Linked DNA regions of Homo sapiens: all the other regions are linked to region 3. The links are contacts of gene promoters, found by promoter capture Hi-C in human tissues and cell types (Jung and others, 2019). All regions are on one chromosome and are shown on one strand. The core of a region is centred on a gene start or on the middle of the fragment in contact, and the rest is flanking DNA. Distances in the headings are between cores, read along the strand shown.

Evidence for each region. Contacts are between HindIII fragments. The study calls those that stand out against the background at their distance.
Region 1: a contact is called between a fragment that was not itself captured here and the fragment with the promoter of AFF3 in region 3, in 2 of the 25 tissues and cell types used here (mesenchymal stem cells and neural progenitor cells).
Region 2: a fragment that was not itself captured here is called in contact with the fragment with the promoter of AFF3 in region 3 in 1 of the 25 tissues and cell types used here (mesenchymal stem cells).

Annotation. Positions count from the first base shown.
Region 1 is chr2:100,202,887-100,207,539 of GRCh38, reverse strand. No RefSeq gene overlaps it. Among named protein-coding and RNA genes, the nearest start is that of LINC01104, 3.0 kb to the left of the region's middle. The HindIII fragment of the contact is 6,322 bases long and covers 1-4,653 here.
Region 2 is chr2:100,184,373-100,188,654 of GRCh38, reverse strand. No RefSeq gene overlaps it. Among named protein-coding and RNA genes, the nearest start is that of LINC01104, 22 kb to the left of the region's middle. The HindIII fragment of the contact is 3,802 bases long and covers 1-3,334 here.
Region 3 is chr2:100,141,074-100,145,376 of GRCh38, reverse strand. AFF3 (ALF transcription elongation factor 3) reads left to right here and starts at 2,787. Exons shown (of 25, transcript NM_001386135.1): 1 at 2,787-2,893. The HindIII fragment of the contact is 13,656 bases long and covers 1-4,303 here.

The DNA of each region.
Region 1 (4,653 bases), core at 1,729-4,228, 62 kb before region 3:
CCGGGCCAGGCTGTCTGCAGCTAATGGGCAGAGGGAATCCTGGCCTACCAGCCTGCAGGGACATAGCTGAGTGCACCGCCATGGGGCAGGAAGGCAGTCCTGCACAAGACAGCCCCATGAGGGACAGAAGGAGGAAGGCACTGACACCATGGCCCCCTCTTTCCCCCAGTCCAGTCGTTATTGTCAACTCTCTTCTTGGTAACCCCTGGCCCCTCATGTCCTGCTCACAGAGGCTCAGGGGTGGTGAAATTGCCTCAAAGGGTGGTTATTTTATTGAAATAGAATCAGATCATTTTCCATCCAGCATCTTGTTTGTAGAAATATCCTATTAGACACAGAAAGGAAAAGATCAGTATCTTTTACACCATAATTAAAATATCACTTTTCTCAATGAAACATTATCTAGATTATCTCACAAAACAGCATTGCTTACAACATTGCTTACAAGCCTTATAAATGTGAGGCTGCCAGCTAGAACACTATAGAAAATGTTAGTTATTGCACCATCTCCCACAGTTGTTCTTTTGATGTGCTGGCTTGGAATAAACAGACTTATCTTTCCTGTCATACAACACTGTCCTTAATTTAATGGAGATGTTATTAAGATAAAATCTCTATTCAATTCCATATTGTACCATATTAACACACACAATTAGTAATGCTTTATCAGTTATGAAGAAAGATGATGACTGCTTTTAAGCTAAATTACCTTTATCATGGTAGCACATGAAAGAAGCGACAAATATTTATCCGAGTGTATGTTAATTCTTATTTAATTTTAACGCTGCTTTTATCAACCAAATTAACCAATGAATTTTATTAAAGGGAATGTTATAGAAAAGAGCTTCCAACACTCTCTTCCATCTGTTTTTATTTATATAATTTTGATGGTTTCTTTTTCTCTTTCATTTCATTTCTAATTAAGAGGAACACGTGGAAAATTGAACATTTGGGCTTAATTTTAACAGAATTTGGAATAATTAGAAGCATGTTCTTGTTAATATAAAGATTGTGAGTGTTGGGATTGCAGGGCTTACATCTGTGCATTTAAACCCCCTCCCACAAGGCATCTTGCTCAGTAAATCTCAAGAGGTGATGGGGGCATCGTAACATGGAAACATAATCTCACCTTAGTGATTTTACACTTAGGGAAGCCAAGCAATTCCTTTTTACAGTTTTAGAAATGCAAGTAGAATGTGACAGCAAGACGCATCTTACAATTCAGGTTGGAGCATTCTCCTCAGCAATATATAAACCTTGCTTCCCTTGGCCCTGGAATCACCCAGGAACTTGTAATGTGTGATTCTAATTGTGGATGGCACACACAGATGGGAGAGACTGAAATCAAGGAAAGCTCTCCTCCTTGGACTATGACTTTTTTTGACTTAAACTTTCTTGACCTTTTTTTTTCTCCCAAGGTGAGATATCAAGTATAGTAGCAATGTCATTGGGAATGCATACACCCTCAGGTAACAATCTGCAATCAGAAGGGACATACTTATCCTATCTTAGGGCATATTCAAATTTGAATTATGCTAGTTTTGTTTTTTTGTTTTTGAGACAGGGTCTCACTCTGTCACCCAGGCTGGAATGCAGTGGCACAATCATGGTTCACTGGAGCCTTGACCTCCCAGGCACAAGCACTCCTCCTGCCTCAGCCCCTTAAGTAACTGGGACTACAGGCATGCAACCACCATGCCTGGCTAATTTTTAAATTGTTTATAGACATGGAGTCCCGCTATGTTGCCCAGGCTGGTCTAGAACTCCTGGTCTCAAGTGATCCTCCCCCGTCAGCCTCCCAAAGTGCTGCAATTACAGGCGTGAGTTACAGTGCCCCAGCCTGTGCTAGGTTTCTTATTTGCTGTCTGGAAACCTTCAGGGAGACAGAACTTATTCCCACCTTTCATTACTTTTAGGAAGGAAACCACAGTGACTGCGCAACTTGAGAGATGCCTCTAGGTGCAGTCAATGAGCCCTGAAGGCCCTTGGCAATGCTGTGGCACAGCTGGTGTCCCCGCAGCCACTTCACATGTGCCCCACTCTCCAAACATAGAGGCAGCCCAGTTTTGGCTGTCTCAGACACCTCTTCACACTGATCTGACGGCAAGTGTGCAAAACATAAAGACACCATCCCGTGAGCTTGACAGGCCCTCACATCGGCCCAGGCTGACCAGATCTCATACGAAAGGTCACAGCCTTCTGTAAGAGCCATACTCATGAAGATTGCGGTGAAAGTGCATTGTGGTTTAGTTAACAGTGAAAGGAGTGGTTTGCATTTCCTATCATCCATATTTCATGTGCTACGGTTGAAAGCTGCAGAGCAGGACACCTGGAGCCTCCCAGTCTTCATGCTGACACTTACTTGATGCGTGACCTTGAGCAAGTCACTGGTCTCTCTAAGCCTCAGTTCCTTGTCTGTAAAATGGAGCGAATGCCTGTTTAATCTATAAAGTGCAATAAATCACACAAATTCTCCTCACGCTCAGGATCTTTAAAAGCGAGCAAAAACACAAAATTGTTTTTAAATAGTTGAAAATATGACACAGTGCAAACTATCATTATCATTATGTTTTTAATTGAAATCTGAGTCATTTTTTATTTCTTCTAAGCCAAAAAAAAAAAAAAATCTGAACACTTTACTGAAAAATAGATTGGAAAATGTCTGTGGCTGGCTGATAGGAAACTACTTCCAATTCCAGAAATACCAAAAATGGCATCTCTGAAAATCTAGCTCTGGTTTGGATGCACAGGGCATTTGTGATCTCATAAACTTGCAAACAGCCAAGGGGTGTTTTATCAAGTTGGAAACAATAGTTTGAATTTAGTCCATATGTGTCAATCTTCAAGTTGCAACTTGCTAGTCATACTAGTAGTGTCATTATTACCGTTGAGTGATGATAGCCATCTGAAAGCTGGGTTAGAATGGACAGGCTTACAAAATTTTATAGCAGCTCTAAATGACAATCTAATGCATCCAAAGCCTCTCTATCCCCTACCTAAACCAGCACTTCACAGCTATGGAAGACTCATAAAATTCCGAGCCTGGCAATTTATACTTAATCTCTCTAAAGAGCATGTGTTCAGAGCAGCCCCCTACTCTGTGAGATGGCATTTGAGCACCAACACCTCTGCTATATAAAACACCTTATCAGTAGTAAATATATTAATTTGACCCCAAGGGAGAGAAGGTGAGAGCAAATCAGCCGCAGCAAGCCATTTACATTCTTTATTTCTGCAGATGAATTCTCCGTCTATTTTCATCTTGTAATCAGGCACTTGCCAAATACACAAGAATTTCATTTTCTATCTCCACAGCATATGTGTCTCCTTACTTTGATATGTCCTGTTTTTAGGAAGTAGAGATGTTTTAAAATTATATTTCAAACAGGAAAAAAATCAGTCTCCATATAATTAGTGAATGTAACCAGATTATTTGCAATCAACATATACTTAATGCCTTATTACCCTAATGGAAGTTATTGTAAGTGATGATAAAATTGGCAGAAATAAGTTATGCTAAGTGATGATAAAATTGGTATTATTAAGTGATGAAAACCTTTTACCTTCCGCTGTTTTTTTTTCCCCATCTCTAATCTACCCAAATTCATCTTTAATGAGAGAACCTGGAGGACGCATTTATGGCACTTAGGTCAACGAGGAAAACACAGCAGTTTTTACCCACAGCCAGAACACATTTGCCGACCTCCAACCTCAGAGGGCAGAGGCAAGACGGACAGTTGGAAAAGCTCTCAACCTATTATTTGTAAGCTTTATATGTTCTTGCCCATTAGTGCATTCCTCTTTGTTCCTAATCTGTGGTTTTCCTCTTGACCTGTGACTCCCAGTCTTAGTGTCAGAGAAGAAATCAGAAGCAAAATGATTATTCTGAAGGCAGAAGAAAAACAAATAGAAAGTTACGTGCTGGCCAGGTGCGGTGGCTCACACGTGTAATCCTAACACTTTGGGAAGCCGAGGTGAGCAGATCACTTGAGGTCAGGAGTTCAAGACCAGCCTGGCCAACATGGTGAAACCCTGTCTCTACTAAAAATACAAAAAATTAGCTGGGCATGGTGGCATGCACCTGTAATCCCAGCTACTCGGGAGGCTGAGGTATGGGAATCCCTTGAACCTGGGAGGCGGAGGTTGCAGTGAGCCAAGATCGTGCCACTGCACTCCAGCCTGGGGGATAGAGCAAGACTCTATCTCCAAAAAAGTAAAACAAAAGAAAGAAAAAAAAAGAAAGGTATACGCCATATAAATGAGAGAGGTCCTTGGAGCTGGGAGGGTGGGCTTCTTAGCCCCGGTGCTAGGAACTAAGAATGAGTAACAACTGAAAAATCCCTCTCTTTAGCGGGTAGCAGGTCACCCGCTCGCACTTGACTGATAGTTGTGGGACACCTTGGCTCTCTTTAGGAACACGTCTTTGATAACCTGAAGGAGAAAAAAAAATAAACATGGATTTCTAAGTTGGCTATAACTGACTCCAGCTTTCCTGCTAAAAGCTCTAATGATATCTTCATGTCAGTGTGAGTGAGGTTGATGAAGCAGATGGGAACCTGTTTTCAGGGGTGAATGAATAGCAAATCGCTGGAGAAGAGCATGGTTGGCCTGCAGTTCCTAGGTCATAATGCTCTCGAAAGAAACAAAGGCGTG
Region 2 (4,282 bases), core at 184-2,683, 45 kb before region 3:
ATTGTTTAATGGGTACAGAATTTCAGTTTGAAAAGACAGAAAAGTTCTAGAGATAAAGCGTGATGGTTGCATAACAATGTAAATGTACTTAATGCCACTTAACTCTGCACTTAGAAAATGGTTGAAGGTTGGGGGTAGTGACTCATGCCTGTAATCCCAGCACTTTGGGAGGCCAAGGTGGGAGGATTGCTTGAGCCCAGGAGCTTGACAGCAACCCTGGCAACACAGTGAGACCCTGTCTGTACAAAAATAAATTTTTAAAAATTAGCCAGGCATGGTGGTGCGTGTTTGTGGTCCCAACTACTTAAGAGGCTAAGGTGGGAGGAACACTTGAGCCTGGGAGTTCAAGGCTATCGTGAGCCATGATCACACCATTGCATGCCAGCCTGGGTGACAGAGAGACCCCCTCCCTCCCAAAAAAAGGTTGGAATGGTGAATTTTATGGATATGTAACTCCAGTTTAACAAATCTATCTTATTAAACCTATATTAGCTCTATTACTAAGTATAAAATTATAATTGAAGTGATAAGAAAGCATTTTGCTACATTTAATTTACAGCGTTTTTTTTCCTTGGTGGTAACTAAATTATGGGGCATCTTTCAGACATTGGCGTCCTAGATTTGTGAAATATGGCCATATGCCTTCTTTCTTTCACCCTCTCCCTCTGTATAAAAAAGGTCCTCGTGAGAGTTTCCCCTTTGGAAAGGGAAACTTGTGCCCTGCAACTTCACTTCTGATCAATTATAGGGTTTACTTCACACCCAGCACGAATCTAAGAGCTGGGATTAGAGACCTAATTCCCAACTTCAGTGAGTATATGGCTTCTTGGTCAGGTAAAAATAATGCAAAATGCTTAGGGGTGGAATTGTAAGTTCCGGGCCAGGAATCTGAAGAGGAATATTCTAGTCTAAACTGCACCTGGCAAGTCACCTTGCTTCTCTGGGCCTCATCTGCAAAATGAGATGTTTAAATTAAACTTCTGAGGCCCCTTAACACTTTTCTGCATCCATGAAGATAATTAGACAACATATAATCAAAGTGAAGCATCAACAAATAGAGCAGAGACAGTGCTTATGTGCCCATCAAATGTGTCCCTTTTCTTCCTGGGCCGATAACTTCACTACATTACAGTGCCTCTGGCAGAGAGGCAGGACCAGCTGCCTGAGTTCTGGCCAAAAGAACATGGTGAGAAATTACACCTGCCACCCTCAGACCTGGCCTCTGGAACATTCCAAGGAGATCCTCCACTCTCCATCCTTCTTTGGTACCCTAGGAGGTCACAGGTTGAAGATGCTTCTGCCACAATGGAAGGGACTTGGTTCCAGTGCCCAACCCACATGGACTGTGACATGAGCAAGAATTACGTTGTCATTCCTTTAAGCCACTCAGATTTTGTTTGTTGTTTGTTTTTAATAACTAGCATACCCTGAATGAAACAAAAAGCAAAGTATGAGTTTAATAAGAGTTCTGGTCATGCGTGGTGGCTCATGTCTGTAACCCCAGCATTTTGGGAGGCTGAGGTGGGTGGATCACCTGAGGTCAGGAGTTCAAGACCAGCCTGGCCAACATGATGAAACCCTGTCTCCACTAGAAAATACAAAAAATTAGCCAGGTGTGGTGGCGCATGCCTGTAGTCCCAGCTACTCATGAGGCTGAGGCAGGAGAATCGCTTGAACCCAGTAGGCAGAGGTTGCAGTGAGCCCGGATCACACCAATGCACTCTAGCCTGGGCGAAAGAGCATGACTCTGTCTCAAAAAATAAAAAGTAAAAATAAGAGTTCTTCAGATGTAGGAAAGGTCAGAGGGGAGGTCATTGACACAAGTCCTAAAGGTACAAACAAAATGGAAAAGGGAGATGTTCGGCCCTGGCAGAAGCAGAAACACTCAGAATGTGGATATTTGGCTTTGGTTTGTTCTGAGAGCTGGAGACGAATGTTTGATGTTATAATCCACCTCCATGCCCAACTCCCTTTGCCCACCTGCCCCCACACATATCCAGAGATTCTCCATCATCCAACAGTATCACTGGAAAAAATCTTCAAAATGACTCTGGATGGATCCAGTAATATGGAAACAAAATATGCCTGACCATAAAGAAAACAAGGCACTGTGGAGCCTAAGTAGATGAACCGTGCGTGTGCTGAGCATTCCCGCGAGATCCCCTGAGATCCACCTCCAATAATAGAAGCCAGCAAACCCAAACCAAGAAGAGGAGCGAAGCAGCAACTGGACAGGGGTGGACGAAATCCCAAAGGTGGAGCTTGCTAGGGTCCTCCCAGGCAGGAGGCCAGGATGAACTCTAAGACCCCCACTGTGCAGGTAACAGGCAGCATGGGGGCTATCAAGGAGGAGCCCCCTCCAGAAGTCCTTCGGGGAAGACCCACAAGCCCCAAGTTGCATCACTGCGTTCATCACAGAACACCAGGGGAGGTGTGGGGAGGGAGGATGGAGACAAGGGGGAAAAGCAAGTTGGGAGAGGGAAAGAGGTGGGGAGGAAGGAAGAGAGGAATGAAGGGAGGAAAGAAGGACGGAGGGCAGGTGAGGGGGCAGGCTATAAAAATAGACGTAACTTCAAGGGAAGCTTGCTAAGGATCTTAAATAAAAGGCAAAACCTTCCTAAATGGTTCAGGACCAAATATCCAAGAGGTCAGTTGACCCCTTCTCCATGACTAATTGATCTCCTTACATAAATAAGAAGGGTCAACATTTAGCCAGAAAGCAAAACAAGGGTTGTTTCATTTACCTACATCCAAGCCTCTGAATTCCTGCAGCTTCCAGGAGGGATTTCAGCCATTTAAACAAGACTTTGCAAGCACTTTATTGTAACTGCAAACTCAGAGACAAAGATGAGAATTACGCACGTGTGAACAATGATTGCCCTTGGCCAGGAGACGAAAATGGGCTGGGGCAGTAGATTGGAGCCAGGCTGCAAGACAAGGATGGCAAACAGATCTCAAGTGGGCTCCCACCCCAGGGCCTTTGCACTTGCTGTCCCCTGCCCCGAAGGCTCTCCCCCTGGATGTTTGCAGGGCTGGTTCCCTCACTTCGATCAGTTCTCTATTCAAATACCATCTCTTAGAAGGCCTTTTTTGACTCCCATTAGCAAAATGACTCCCCAGGAAACTTCATCTCCTTAACCTGCTTTAGTTTTTCTTCATGATGTTATTTTCCCTATCTGACGCCCAATTGTATACCTGCTTGTCTGTCTCCTATGAGGGCATGTGCTTTTCTGTGTTTTCTGCTTTGTCTTTAAGGCCCAGAAGCGTGCTTGGAGCATAGGAGCCACAAATAGTTACTTGCTGAGCAATCTTCCTTGCTAACTCATGCTTGTAGCTAGTGGCCATTTGATGGCTGCTTTGAGAAAGATTTGGGAGAATCAGAGTGTGGTCATCAATGACCGACATCCTCCTCAGCCTTTGGGAGGCAGAGCTACACTGCCTGGTAGGCTGGCAACACTGCTGCCTGGTAGAGGGGTTGAAATGGTACTGAATTGGGGCTTCACTAATATGGTAGCCAATGAGTTAGCACTATAGGTGTAGAGGTGGGAGGAGTATCATAATGAAAATGTGGCAGGGTAAGAGATTTCCCCTGGCAAGGTATACAGCTTCTGGTAGAATGGTCCTGATGTGGGATAAGCCTGGAGCTGGCAGATGCTGTGGGAAGCAGCCCAGGTCAGGGGCTGTGAGGCCCTTGGCAGAGAGAGTGCCTTGAGCAGGCTGCACTGGATGGTGAGCCTTGTTTGAGATCTCACCCCTCAGGAGGCAGGGCTTGTTTGAGATATTGCCCAGGGTTAAAGGAAGGACAATTGAGATGAGGAGGGACCAATCTGTCCACTGCCACCACCCCCACCCCCACCTCAGCATCCCAGCATCCTCGCATTACCCACAGCTGTCGCCTCCTTCCCAGTTCAAAGCAGAATTGAGAAGAGTCCATGAAAGAAGAGTCAGCAGTGAATAAGTAAGCCCACAAGTTAATATGTCATTAGGCAATATCCTTTAAACACTCTAAATTTGGACCTGTGACACAATTTCTCTTGATTCACGAAGCAAAACTTGACAGAAAGGAAACCTCCTTCCCCTTTTAAGCTTGAGGAGTCTGCCAGGCCAGACAACACCCAGAATCTTCTCCATCATATTTTTAATCATAAGTTGATTGTGAGCTCTTAAGCAATGTCCTCAGTGCCATGCCAGGGCCCAGCACAATAGTGCTGGCTTCCCAGGGCTGAAACACCTTCCAACTCTCTCCCTCTCATCTCTCTCCCGCTCTCTCTCTCTCTCCAAA
Region 3 (4,303 bases), core at 1,538-4,037:
CTAGACTGGTCTCGAACTCCTGGCCTCGAGCAATCCTCCTGCCTCAGCCTCCCAAAGCACTGGGCTTACAGGCATGAGCCACCAATCCTGGCCAACTTTTTAATTAAAATGAAGACATTCTGCCTTAGAAGTAGTAGCTCTCCTTGGTATGAAATTTATAAATTTTACAAGCAGTTTACAGAATAGTGAGGTAAACAAACAGAATAACCATCATGATAATCTCCACCACTTACTGAATACTTATGACATCCTGCACACACACTATGTTGTTTAATTTCTACAGTCACTCTATGAGTGGGTACCGTATAGACGAGGAAGCTGAACGTAACATCCCCAAGTTACCCTTGCTAGTAAATGATAGAGGCTGAACCCAAACCCAGGTCTTTCTGGAGGCAGAGCCCACCCTCCTGACCATCAAATTGCCCATAGTATCATCTAACATGAAGGCAATGGCTTCAGCCCGCACAGGTGAGGAATTCTGCTTTGAGATGAGCAGGATGGAAGGGTTTTTAATATCCATGGGGATCTGCCAGATAGCCAATGGAAGTGAAGGCACCCTGAAAGAGGAAATAGCATGTGCAAAGCTGTGACATAAAGCAGCCTGAAAGTTCAAGAAACCATGAGTGGTGGTGGGATTGTTGGGTGGTGAGGAAGGAAGTGGTATCAAGGATGGCAAGAGATGGTATTGGGGAGTGGGCAGAGGCCACTGAATCCAACATCTCGCCTGCCCAGCGATGGAGCCTTGGGATTTTCCTGTGGGTGACAGGGAGCCATTGAAGCGTTTAAGGACTGGTCGTGGGGTGAGGGGAGTGTACTGTCATCATTTTTGTAGTCTTTTGCAGAGAAAATTTGGAGGCAGTTTGGAAAACACTCTAGAGCCTGACATGTGAGAGATGAGTTAGGAGGTCACGTGTCCCCACTTTTCTAATTTTGTATCTTCTTCAGCAAAAAAGTCTTTGCCGCCTATTCTGAGCAGATGTATGATTATTCACAAATGATATACAATACAACTGTATTCACACATTGCATGCCTTGAAACATACACAAAATGTAAACACTAAAAACATGACGTAAAAATAGATGTAAGTCTGGGAACTCGATGGAGGTGGTGGCTGCACAGCATTGTGAGTGTACTCAATGCCACAGGATTCCCCATCTTAAAACGGCTCATTTTATGGTATGTGAGTCTTAATTAAATACAAAAACCAGACAAGTGTGGGTAGATAGACATTCAATTCCTTTCTTCTCATCCTTCAGTGAACGGTCTGGTGTGCCCTGGGTGCACGTACCCCTTGGGGATTAGGGCAGTGATGAGAGGCAATGGAGGGAGGGTGTGGCTGTGGAGATGCGGACGGGAAGAAGGATCTGAGGAGTGACTGAAGAGGTAGAATGGGCAGGGCTTGGTGATGGAAGGTTGAAGAGTATTCAGCAAAGAGAAGAACGTGGGAAGCCTCCCCATTTCTGGTTTGGGTATAAGATAAAGAAACGTTTTCTCCTTGCCAGGGACATGAGGCAGACAATACTGGGATAATTTCCCAGGGCTTGGGATAGGACTGGGTGGGGAAGTTTCTAGGTATCCATTCTCAGGATAAGGACGGGCCTGTTTGGATGAGGATAATGGAGGGTCAAACCTGAAGAAGCCAGATTAGCAGAGGCAAAGTGAGAGATCAGAAGGTGGTAAACTCAGAAGGGGGTAGAGACCTGAGGAGCAAGCTGGGACAAGGCAGGAGGGAATTCACAGGCCACATGGTAAGTAATGAGTGGGGTAGAGGACAGAGCAGGGTTTCATTGTGGCGAGTCTGACGGGAGGTGCTGGGGGATGTTCCAGGAGAACAGCAGAAATGTGTGATGCTATGGATGTGGGCTTGGCAAGTTCCATCTGGAGCTGGGAAGAGGCCACCCATGGAGAACAGGAACCATGAGGCGGAGAGTGGAGCTTGCAGGAGGGCGAAAATTAAGACCAAAGAATGGAAGCCTGCCAGTGTGAGAGACCGCCTGACAAAAACCAGGAGAGTATGGAGTCATGGCGGCCCAGGCAGAAGTTCTGGGAGGAAAGAAATGGTCAACACTACAGGGAAGTCAAACACTGCCAGTGGAGACAAATAGGACAGGAACTGAAAAAGCATCCATTAGTGAATCCCTGGTGTCATTAGTGAAAATAATTCCAGGCATGAATGGGGAGAGGGAAGGGTGTCGGGCAGGAAGTCCAGTGCCCGTGGGTTGACTGAATGGGAGATGAGGAGGTAACACCCATCATGTAGGTCATGTAGAGCAGCCTTAGGACATCTGATTCCTTGCCTAAGACTCTTCTTTCCTGGTGTAGCTTTGTTCTAGAAAGGTCTGGAAGACTTGTCACAGTTCCAATGCAGGATGAGCCTTTGGTCCTGATCTCTTGGAGGCCCAGACAGCCTGGGAAACCAGCAGAGCTTTGGACAAGTTAAGCAGCCCATTGAAATCAACATTCTTGATAATCATATATCTAAGAGATTCCAAAATGTTCCTGGGATTCTTTTATGGGTCTGCATAGGGTTAGAAAGCACAGGAGTCAAAGAGACCTTCTCCCTTGGCCTCCAGGGCCACCATCCTCTGCTTTTGTCAGTTGGTCTCCCCAGAGTAGAGTCCAGGTTCCTGCTTCCAGCCTTCTGGTAGACCAGGCCCTGCCACAAGTGAGAGTTGGCCGGTTGGGTATCTGGTTTAGTCACTCGCCTCCACACTTTCACATCCTCTATCAACACCTGCACACTTGGGTTGTGACCACACATGCTCTTCCTGTTTGTACAGAAAGTGCCATTCAGAAAGCTCGCCAGCGAGAAGAGAGCTCCACGCTCAGCCTCAGAAGAAAGACGTTCAACGACTTACTGGGGAGAGAAAGAAAAGGAACGGGAGCTGAGAGGTAAGATCAAACTGGAGGGTGTGCGGGCCCTCTAGGATGCCTTGCCTGGAAGAGAGGTAGCCCCGACTTTGTGTCCTGAAGGGTGGCGCTCTAAGTAGCTGTGCCCATGCTCCGCTGGTCAGGGCAGGGGGAGCATTCTTGGTCAGCCTCACCGAGATGGTCCAGGCCCTGGTGAACAGCCAGAGGGATTGAGAAGGAAGAGATGGGATGTGACCAAAGTTGGTCACTGAAGCCGTCAGTGTGTGTGCGTGTGCATGTGTGTGTGTGTGTGTGGTAGAGGGTGCACATAAAGAAGACATAACCTGAGTGTGAACATGCTCACACACATATTTATGATGCTGGCTGGGGCCTTATGAAAAGTGTGTCTTAACCTCATGTTGCTCATTAGCTATAACCTCAAAAATAGAAACCATGACATGGCCACAGACTGGATCCCAGTCAATGGCCCCAGTGAGTGAGCTTGCAAGGAGAGATCATGGGCAGTTCCACCTAAGGCCACCGTCACTTCTGCAGAAATGACTTGGAATAATGACCTCCTCACTGTTAGGGGCTAACAGCACTATATTTGTATTTCTTGGATGGAACATTGTATATGTGTGTATTTGTGTGTGTGTGTCTGTGTATGTGCATAAACACATCATGTATTTATACACATGACATTGTGTGTATGTGTGTTTATGTGTGTATATATATGTACACACACATATGATATAATGCAATATACACAGTGACCAGATTTTTGAAACCAAAGAGAACTAATAGCAAGACAAAGGGGTTTTTTTCCTAATATGTGATTTCCTTGCTATTCGAGTCTCACATATATAAAAATGAAATATGTCTACACATGTGTTTCATAATTCCTTTTATTCAAAGAGGGGATCATTCAGGTAGCTAAAGGTCAAGTGTTTACAATAACAAAGTGGTGGTAAACTCATTCTTTGAATGTTGATCGTACAAACTAAATAATCCATCAAAAAATGTTGTCTCTGCCATTATTAAAAGCATGTGTTCCTTGGTGCAAAATTTAAGAATGTTCTAACTACAAGAGCACCTTCCTTTACCTAGGGCTATCCCATCTCACTGTTGAAGTGAAGTGATTACAGTGAAAGTAATACAGACATTTAATATTCTTAGTTTTGGTTGTGTTTCTGTCAACTGCTATTCCCTTGTTCTAGGCGTAACTGCACTTAGTGTTTAGTGGTGTTATGCATATGTATATTTGATTTGCATTTAGAAAATAGAAAAATATATACATTGCTTATTTTCCAGATTTCAAGGTTTAAATTCCCACTCTAACATGATGGTTTTAGGCAAGTCACTATACATCTCTGCATCGGAGTTCCCACATCTGTAACACAAGTACAATAGTAGATAGTAATCCCTTCCTCTTAAGAATTAAATAAGCTAATA